3 separate regions of the Homo sapiens genome follow, and regions 1 and 2 are each linked to region 3. The links are contacts of gene promoters, found by promoter capture Hi-C in blood cells and fetal thymus (Javierre and others, 2016). All regions are on one chromosome and are shown on one strand. The core of a region is centred on a gene start or on the middle of the fragment in contact, and the rest is flanking DNA. Distances in the headings are between cores, read along the strand shown. Region 1 overlaps ZFP14 (ZFP14 zinc finger protein). Region 2 has its middle 5.7 kb from the start of ZFP14. Region 3 holds the start of ZNF583 (zinc finger protein 583).

Region 1 (2,876 bases), core at 164-2,663, about 20 Mb after region 3:
CTGCCTTGGCCTCCCAAAGTGCTGAGATTACAGGCGAGAGCCACCGTGCCCGGCCAGAGCTTGTTTCTCTTTAGACTCCCTATACTTTTCCCCAGTTATATGTGGGTATAGGATAGGGATGGGCATAGTGGTGGGTGGTACTTTGGAAAAGCCAATGGAAGTAGTTTGGGAGAAGGAATGGAAGAGAAAAAAGTTTTCATATTTATGATGTACATCATTTTGGGAGCTCTGTGGCGCAGCTTATTTCATGGTTTCTTTTTCTTCTTTCAGCTCTGGCTTATCAGGACTCCATAGTTCTCCAACAGAGAAATCTTGAAAAGGACTGACCAGTTTTTGCAGTTCTAAAACCATGGCCCATGTAAGTTAATGTTTCTCTGTCCTTTTCGAAATACTGTCAATTTCTGTATCATGTATATAGATTCATTCTTTATTCTGAAACTTCCTGCTTACCAGAGCTTCATCCAAGAACCTGCTCCATGGCTGGACGCAATGGCTCACGCCTGTAATCCCAGCACTTTGGGAGGCCGAGGCAGGCGGATCACTTGAGGTCAGGAGTTCGAGACCAGCCTGGCCAACATGGTGAAACCCTGTCTCTACTAAAAATACAAAAATTAGCCAGTGTGGTGGCAGGCGCCCAGGAGGCTGAGGCAGGAGAATTGCTGGAACCCGGGAGGTAGAGGCTGCAGTGAGCCGAGATTGCGTTACTGCACTCCAGCTGGGGCGACAGAGCAAGACACCATCTCAAAAAAAAAAGAACCTACTCCAGTTCTTTTCCCTCCTGTGAGGATTGGGACAGATAGCCCAGTATCCTATGTGGCTATCTCTTCTCCCACTAATGTTGAGCATCTCCTACCTACAAAATCTTCTGTCAATAGCTGTGAGAAAGCGGAAATGAGATGCCTTGAGAAAATTGAAGGCATTCTCTGCAGAATGTCCTCCTGTTAACATCTTCCAGTGGAACCGCTTTTCATTTTAAAACTTAAACTCCAGAAAAAGTATATTTTTCTCAGTACAGTGCTTTTTGTCTTAGTTTTACATAGAAAAAATAGGTGTCCCCAATACATAATATGACATTTTTTTTTTTTTTGAGACAGAGTTTCACTCTTATCACCCAGGCTGGAGTGCAGTGGCATGATCTCGGCTCACTGCAACCTCCACCTTCTGGGTTCAAGCAATTCTCCTGCCTCAGCCTCCCAAGTAGCTGGGATTACAGGTGCCCGCCACCATACCTGGCTAATTTTTGCATTTTTAGTAGAGATGGGATTTCACCATGTTGGACAGGATTGTCTTGAACTCCTCATCTCAGGTGATCTGCCTGCCTCGGCCTCCCAGAGTGCTAAGATTACAGGTATGAGCCACTGCACCTGGCCACAATATGACATTTTTAAAACGTTTTTGAAATTTTTTGTGGAGGAATGACATATATACAAAAAAATATACAAACCATAAGTGTATGGCTGGATGAATTTTCATAAATTGAGTACATCTATGCTATCAGGTCAAGAAAGGAAATCACCTCAGATGCTTTCAGTCACTCCCCACCCACCTACTGCCCAGGGTAACCACTGTCTTGATGTCGAACACTATAATGTAATTTTGCTTATTTTTGGAACCTTGTTCAAGTGGGGCAGGTGTGGTGGCTCATGCCTGTAATCCCAGTACTTGGGGAGGCTGAGGTGGGCAGATCGCTTAAGCTCAGGAGTTCCAGACCATCCCGGGCAACAAGGCAAAACCGTGTCTCTACAAAAAATACAAAACCTAGCTGGGCATGGTGGCACACCTATAGACGCAGCTACTCAGGAGGCTGAGGTGGGCGAATGACTAGAGCTCGGGAGGTGGAGGTTACAGTGAACCGAGATCGCACCATTGCACTCCAGCCTGGATGACAGAGCCAGACCCTATCTCAAAAAGACAAAACAAAACAAGAACTTTGTTCAAGTGGAATCATATAGTTCAATACAATTTTTTTTTTTTGAGACAGAGTCTCGCTCTGTCGCCCAGGCTGGAGTGCAGTGGCAGGATCTCGGCTCACTGCAACCTCCGCTTTCTGGGTTCAAGCGATTCTCCTGCCTCAGCCTTCTGAGTACCTGGAGTTACAGGCGCCCACCACCACTCCCAGCTATTTTTTGTGTTTTTTTTTGTAGAGACGGGGTTTCACCATGTCGGCCAGGCTGGTCTCAAACTCCTGACCTCAAGTGATCCACCTGCCTCGACCTCCCAAAGTGCTGAGATTACAGGCATGAGCCACCATCCACCATGACACCCAGCCTTTTTTTTTTTTTGACAGAAGGTCTCACTCAGTCACCCAGGCCGGAATGCGGTGGTATGATCCCAACTAACTGCAGCCCCGACCTCCCAGGCTCAGGTGATCCTCCCACCTCAGCCTCCTGAGTACTGGGGACTACAGGCACGTGCCACCACTCTTGGCTAATTTTTAAAATTTTTTGTAGAGATGGGGTCCCACTATGTTGCCTAAGCTGAACTCAAACTCCTGGGCTCAAGTGATTCTCCCACTTTAGCCTCCCAAAGTATTGGCATTATAGGTGTGATCCACCGCACCTGATCCAATACAATGCTTTTTTTTAAAAAACAAAAATAACATCCAGGAAAAATCTTGTTATATCCCAAATACAGTTGTTAGACCAATGGAACCATCTGCAGATGTTTTGAAATGTGTATAACTATCATTCAAGGGCATGTGTGTACCTGGTGCTGCTAGTGACTGAGGAGGTAACAGAGCACCATCCTGAGTGTCAGCCGTTCCCGCTATCACGTTCTTGTTGGAAACACTTTTCCATACTGTGCTTCACATATAGCCCTCATTTTTGTCTAGTGTAAAATGAGTTCCTAAAAGATTGGAAAAGTATTGAAGAAAA
Region 2 (2,940 bases), core at 52-2,551, about 20 Mb after region 3:
GAAATCTAAGTGAAGGAAGCCATGCCCCCGTGACTCTTGCATTCTGCACTCCTGCCAAATTAGCACCACATTGATGCTGCCACCACAAGCTTACAGCTTATGCCCAGTGGCAGGCTGAGCCACACCTGAGCCAGCAGGAACCAATGGCTGGGGCAGCCAAGGGCACTCTACTGGCATGTGGGAAGCAGAGTCATGAGGCAGCATGAGCCAGTGAATGCTGTCTGTGATGGAAGGGGCAGCCTCAAAGAGCGCCAGAATGCCTTCAGGGTCATTCTCCCACTGTCTTGATAGCTCCTGTCTTCCTTCTATTCATACTAATCTTTTCAGCAGTCTCTGGGTATACAACCTTGGTTTGCACTCCTAAACACACCTTTTCACTTCATAAATGGCCAGGCTGCAAATTTTCCATATCTTTTTGTTCTGCCTTCCTTTTAATTATGTTTTATCTTTAAATCATTTCTACCTCTCACATCTTACTATATGCAGTTAAAAGAAGCCATGTAGCTCTTTCAGTATTTTCCTTAGAAATTTCTTCCACCACATATTAGTTCATTGCTCTTAAATTCTGCCTTCCAATAAAGCCCAAGGCATGGACACAAATTCAGCCAGATTCTTTGTTAATTTCTAATAAGGATGGCCTTTATTCCAGTTTCCAATACCTTGTTTCTCATTTCCAGCTGAGACCTCACCAGAATTGCCTTTGCCATCCCTATATTTATCAACATTCTGATCACAACCACTGAAGTAATCTCTAAAAAGTTTCAGACTTTCCATACAGCTCTTCTGAGCCCTCACCAGAATCACCCTTTAACATTCCACCCACAGCAATAGTCTTTTTCTGACATCCAGTTCAAAACTTTTTCAGCTCTTACCCATTACCTAGTTCCAAAGCCACTTCCACACTTTCAGTTATTCATTATAGCAACTGCGTACTTTTCCAGTACCAATTTTCTGTCTTAGTCTGTTTTGTGTTGCTATAACAGAATACTACAGACTCAGTAATCCACAGCAAACAGAAATTTATTGACTCATGGTTCTGGAGACTGAGAAGCCCAAGATTGACAGGCTGACATCTTATGAGTGGCCTCTTGCTGTGTCATCTCATGGCGGAAGGGCAAAGGGGGTGAGAGAGAGAGCAAGCCAGCAAAAGGGGCCAAACTCACCCTTTTATAAGAAACCCACTCACGTGATAACAAACCCATTCCTGTGGTAACAACATTAATCCATTCCTAAGGGCAGACTCCTCATGGCCTAATCACCTCTTAACAGTCCCACCTCTTAATATTGTTGCATTGGGGATCAAGTTTCTCCCAAAAACTTGGAAATGAACTTTGGGGGACACATTCAAACCACAGCACCTTCCACAAAATAAAAGTAAGTATTGCCACAACTCTTTATTTTTAACCAAATCTCTGTAATGTCACTCTATTCATAGATTAAGATTTGTACCTCCAAGTCCAGTTTGCTCAGATTGGGCAGATGTCATTAATTAGTCATTAATCATCTAGAATAATACATCTTGTCCACCCAAGATTTCACATGGTTTTTAATTTGTAAACAGTAAAATGTAACATGAAGAAGACTATTTTAAGTGCTATAATAAAATTAGGTTTTGCTAATAGGACAATGTGTTTCTCCTCTTAGGTAACATTTTCACATTAACAGAGGTCTTCTGGAGACAGTACCTTTACTCAAAATTTCTGAAACTATGTTCCACAGAACACTAGTACTTAATCCTACTTGAAGGAAATGATTTTGTGAAACATGTATGAGAGCTCTGTGTACTATATTTCTTGGGGGAAAAAGTCACATTATGTGCCTATCAATATGAAAGAAAATGGAGTTTTATTTTATTTAACTCAGTGTAATTCAGACTTCACCATAGAACTCCCATTCCCAATACCTATTGCAGATGTGATTCTACTTTGGCAGATGCTGCGATAACCAAAAGGACTTCGAAGATGAAAATGTCAGCATTATGGCAGATGTATGATTACTGGTATGGTGAGGAAAGCAACTCCCATCATGCTTTGTAACCAGCTGCTTGCTTTTTTTGAATGATACTTTTCAATAGAATAGAAAGCCCACTAGTCCTATCTTTTATATATACATTATATGTATTTAAACTTTCTTATTGATCAATATTTAGGTGATAAGCATTTTCTCACTGTGAAAAATACCTTATTGAATAGGTCTGTGTTTATTACTGTACATAAGCAAGAGTTTCTCTAAGGTATTTATCAAAAGTAGGATTGCTCAGTCATAGTTAATATTTACTTTCAACCTCACTAGATACTGTCATAGAAGTAGAGAGCATCAGTATGCTCCCAGTGCACAATCCCTTCAACCAGTGAAATATGTTTTCCTTATTTCCTTATATCCTTACTTCTGGTATGCATAGTAATATTTTCCTGGTTAATAGTGAATTGGGCATATTTTCACATCTGAATATTGGCTAAACGCTGTAACTTGCCAATTTATGTCTTTGCCTGTGTTCCTTTAAAAAAGCTTTTAAAATATAAGAATTATAAGATTCTTAAAAAATAAAATTCTAGATAGTAGTCCTTTGTTATAAATGGACTTACCTTCTCCCATATTGTATTTATGTTGATATTGTCATATGAATACGTTAAATGTGGATACAATCATAGCTTTCATTATTACCTAATAATCTTTTAAATTTTATTTTTTACTAGACTCTTGGTTTTCTAGGCAATCAGGTGTGTCAACTGCAAATAGATATAATTTTGTTTTTTTCTAAATATAGTGATTATTTTTTAAATTATTGTTATTGTAATAGAGTCTCCAAAACAAGGTTTAGTATTCATGGTGATACCAGGCATCTGGTCATTTTCTCCAATTTAATGAAAATTACTTGGTGTAATGTTTACTCTAGGTCTGAGATAAATAGATTTTGTAGCTCAGTTGTCTCAGTTCTTG
Region 3 (2,850 bases), core at 251-2,750:
GGTAACTATTCCCTATCAATTGTTGGGAGGATTCTGAAATGATCTACATAAAGCATTGAGCACAGTGCTTAATTTTCATCTTTCTGTCATTTATTTTCATAACCAGCACATGGTAGGTCTCCCATTCCTTTTTCCTTTTAAATTCCTCACGTGCCCCCAGAGACTGAGAGGGATGGAAAAACTACTGTGCCAGAGGACAAGCAGCCAGCGTGGTCAGCTTTTCAGGCTTAAGGCTGAGGCTCCTGTCTGTCTCTCCCTTTTCAGCTCTCGTCCCTCCCTTTCTCCATCTTTTCCCCTTTATCTCAATCTTTCTGTCTCTCCACCACAACAGCAGTCTCCCAAACCCCAGAGCACACCAGCATCTCCAAGCACCCACACAGCTTCCTGCCCACACAAATCACAGACAACAAACCACATAGTTTCTCATTCTGGCACCTCCCCTGGCAACCTATGGACATGCCCCCACATTGTAGCCCGCCCTGCTCTCACAATGGGTCATATAAGGCCATTCTCAGTCACACTGTCACACTCACTGTCGGGATGACATACAGTGCTAAGTCACACCATCTCCCTCAGTCTCACATAATCACACACACTGTCATGCACAATCTCAAACACTGTCACATACAATCTTAGTCCAACAACAAAAACTCTGTTCACATACAGTTTCACATACAGTGACACAGTCTCACACACTGTCACACAAATTCTGTCGCAGTTTCATGTGGTCCCATATCAACAGCCACACACCGTACACAACCACACATAGCCTCACACACGGTGACATGGTCTCACATACTGTCACAGTCTCATCTAATCCTACACACACGGTCAAGCTCTGTTCACAAAGTCACACACACTGTCACACAGTCTTACATTATCCCACACACACAGGTCACACACACAGTGACATGGTCTTACACACTGTTCACACGTGGTCTACACATAATGACAGTTTAACACTGTCACACATTCCCAGTCTCACACATGGTGACGTGGTCTTAAGCACATACAGTGTCACACAGTCCCACACGGTCCCATATACTGTCAAAGGCTCCCGCATACACCGGGGCAACGGTCTCATACTGTCGCACACATTCTCACACCCAGTCTCATACTGTCACACATAGTCCCACATTTGTCCCACATGGTCTCACACTGACACACATATTCACACACGGCCTCACATTCTCACACTGTCACACACGGTCTCAAATTCTCACACAGTCACACATGGTCTCACACACGATTCCACACTGTCAAACACATTGTCACACACGGTTCCTTAATGTCTCACACATTCTCACACACTGTCACACACGGTCCCACACATGGTGGCATGGCCGCTCCCGGCGTCAGCTCCATCCCGCGCTCCTCACCGCCTCCTCCCTCCAGTGGGCACCTCCTTCGGCGCGGTCCTTGGAGGCCGGGGCTGGGCCAGGGCCCGGGCCAGGGCTCGATCCTGGCCGGCGGCCGCGCTCACAAAGGCGCCGCAGCCCTAGGGCAGGCCGCAGGGGCCGCTGGGAAATGGAGTCCGGGGCCGGCGCGGCGCAGAGGATGCTGGGATGTTGGCCGAGGGCCCCGGGCGGCCGCAGATCCCGCCGCTCAGTTGCGGGTAGTTACTGCTGCGCCCCTTTCCCTAGTAAGCCCACCTCCGCTGGCCTTCAGAATCCCACCCGGACCAGCTGAGCCCTCTCAGGCCGTTCGACTGTCCGCTCCCCCACCCGTTCCACCCGTTCCACCTGCGCAGGCGCAGCTGGTTCAGGTCCCCAAAGGCTGCCAGGCCGGGGTGCCAGCGCGGTGAGGCGCACGCGCAGTGACCGCGTCCGCGCTCCAGCGCTCCGGGTGGGGCTGTGAGTCCATCGCTGAGAAAAGGGAGCTGGAGGACCAGTGTGGAGCCTGAGCCAGCTGGAGAGGGGCCCGGTAGGATGTACGTGTGATTAAGCGCTCTGGCGGCCCGGGCTTTCTCTTTCCCTTTCTGTTTCTTCTCTCTCCGCCTTGCCCTGTCTTTCATTCGCCACTTATTGAGCGCCTGCTGTATCGGGCACTGTCGTGGGCCCTGGGCACACAGCAGTGAACAAGCAGACAAAATCCCCACCTCATGGAGCAGCATTCTAATGCGGGAGGAATTCAATAGGAAAAAATTAATAATAAAGGACACTGATGCATATTGGGAAGTAATGCGTATTATCAAGAAAAGCGAAGCAGAGTATTAAGATCATTCTTTCAGTTCTTCATTCTTTCAGTTATGCCCTCTGAATCAGTGGAAAAAACGCAAGGTGCATTTTTTTCTATTATCTCAACGACAACTAATCATAACAGAAGACTTTTCTGACCAAATATAGGGGAGTTTCCCACACATCTCAAGCAAGCAATGAGTTCAGTGAGTTCTGCAGCGGGCACCAGCTGGGTGTCCTCCAGTTTAATTCCGACGCCGTCTACTTGGAGATGGGTCAGACACCATTCGCTGAGGGCTCAGTCCCCAAGCCTGCCTCCCCCTTCCCACTTCCCACTAAAGTCTAGCCTCTGGAACATCTGACTCCACCACCTTCAAATTGGGATTTTCACCACCCCCTCTTTGCGGTTCGATATTTTGCTAGAGTGGCTCACGGAACTCAGGAAACACTTATGTTTACTAGTTTATTATAAAGGATATTACAAATGATATAGATGAAGAGATGCGTAGGGCAAAGTACAGAAAAAAGGGTGTTGCACCTTCCAGTAACCTCCACATGTTCAGCTGGGTGGAAGCTCTCTAAACCCTGTCTTTTGGGAGTTTTACAGAGGCTTCATTACATAGGCATGGTTGATTAAAATCCCGTCCCCTCCTTAGGGTTGGGGGTGGGGTTG

What was found. Contacts are between HindIII fragments. The CHiCAGO score rates a contact against its expected background, and 5 or more counts as called.
Region 1: a contact is called between a fragment that was not itself captured here and the fragment with the promoter of ZNF583 in region 3, in 1 of 17 cell types (non-activated CD4 T cells). The highest score is 6.2, in non-activated CD4 T cells.
Region 2: a fragment that was not itself captured here is called in contact with the fragment with the promoter of ZNF583 in region 3 in 3 of 17 cell types (total CD4 T cells, naive CD8 T cells and activated CD4 T cells); the score reaches 11.5 in total CD4 T cells.

The regions. Positions count from the first base shown.
Region 1 is chr19:36,365,366-36,368,241 of GRCh38, reverse strand. It overlaps ZFP14 (ZFP14 zinc finger protein), which reads left to right. Exons shown (of 5, transcript NM_020917.3): 2 at 271-358. The coding sequence starts at 350. Among named protein-coding and RNA genes, the nearest start is that of ZFP14, 12 kb to the left of the region's middle. The HindIII fragment of the contact is 9,657 bases long and covers 1-2,876 here.
Region 2 is chr19:36,383,428-36,386,367 of GRCh38, reverse strand. It overlaps a transcript of ZFP82 not described here. Among named protein-coding and RNA genes, the nearest start is that of ZFP14, 5.7 kb to the right of the region's middle. The HindIII fragment of the contact is 2,419 bases long and covers 92-2,510 here.
Region 3 is chr19:56,402,982-56,405,831 of GRCh38, reverse strand. It overlaps ZNF583 (zinc finger protein 583), which reads right to left and starts at 1,500. Exons shown (of 5, transcript NM_152478.3): 1 at 1,380-1,500. RefSeq lists a silencer at 1,267-1,476 and an enhancer at 1,937-2,076. The HindIII fragment of the contact is 8,045 bases long and covers 1-2,850 here.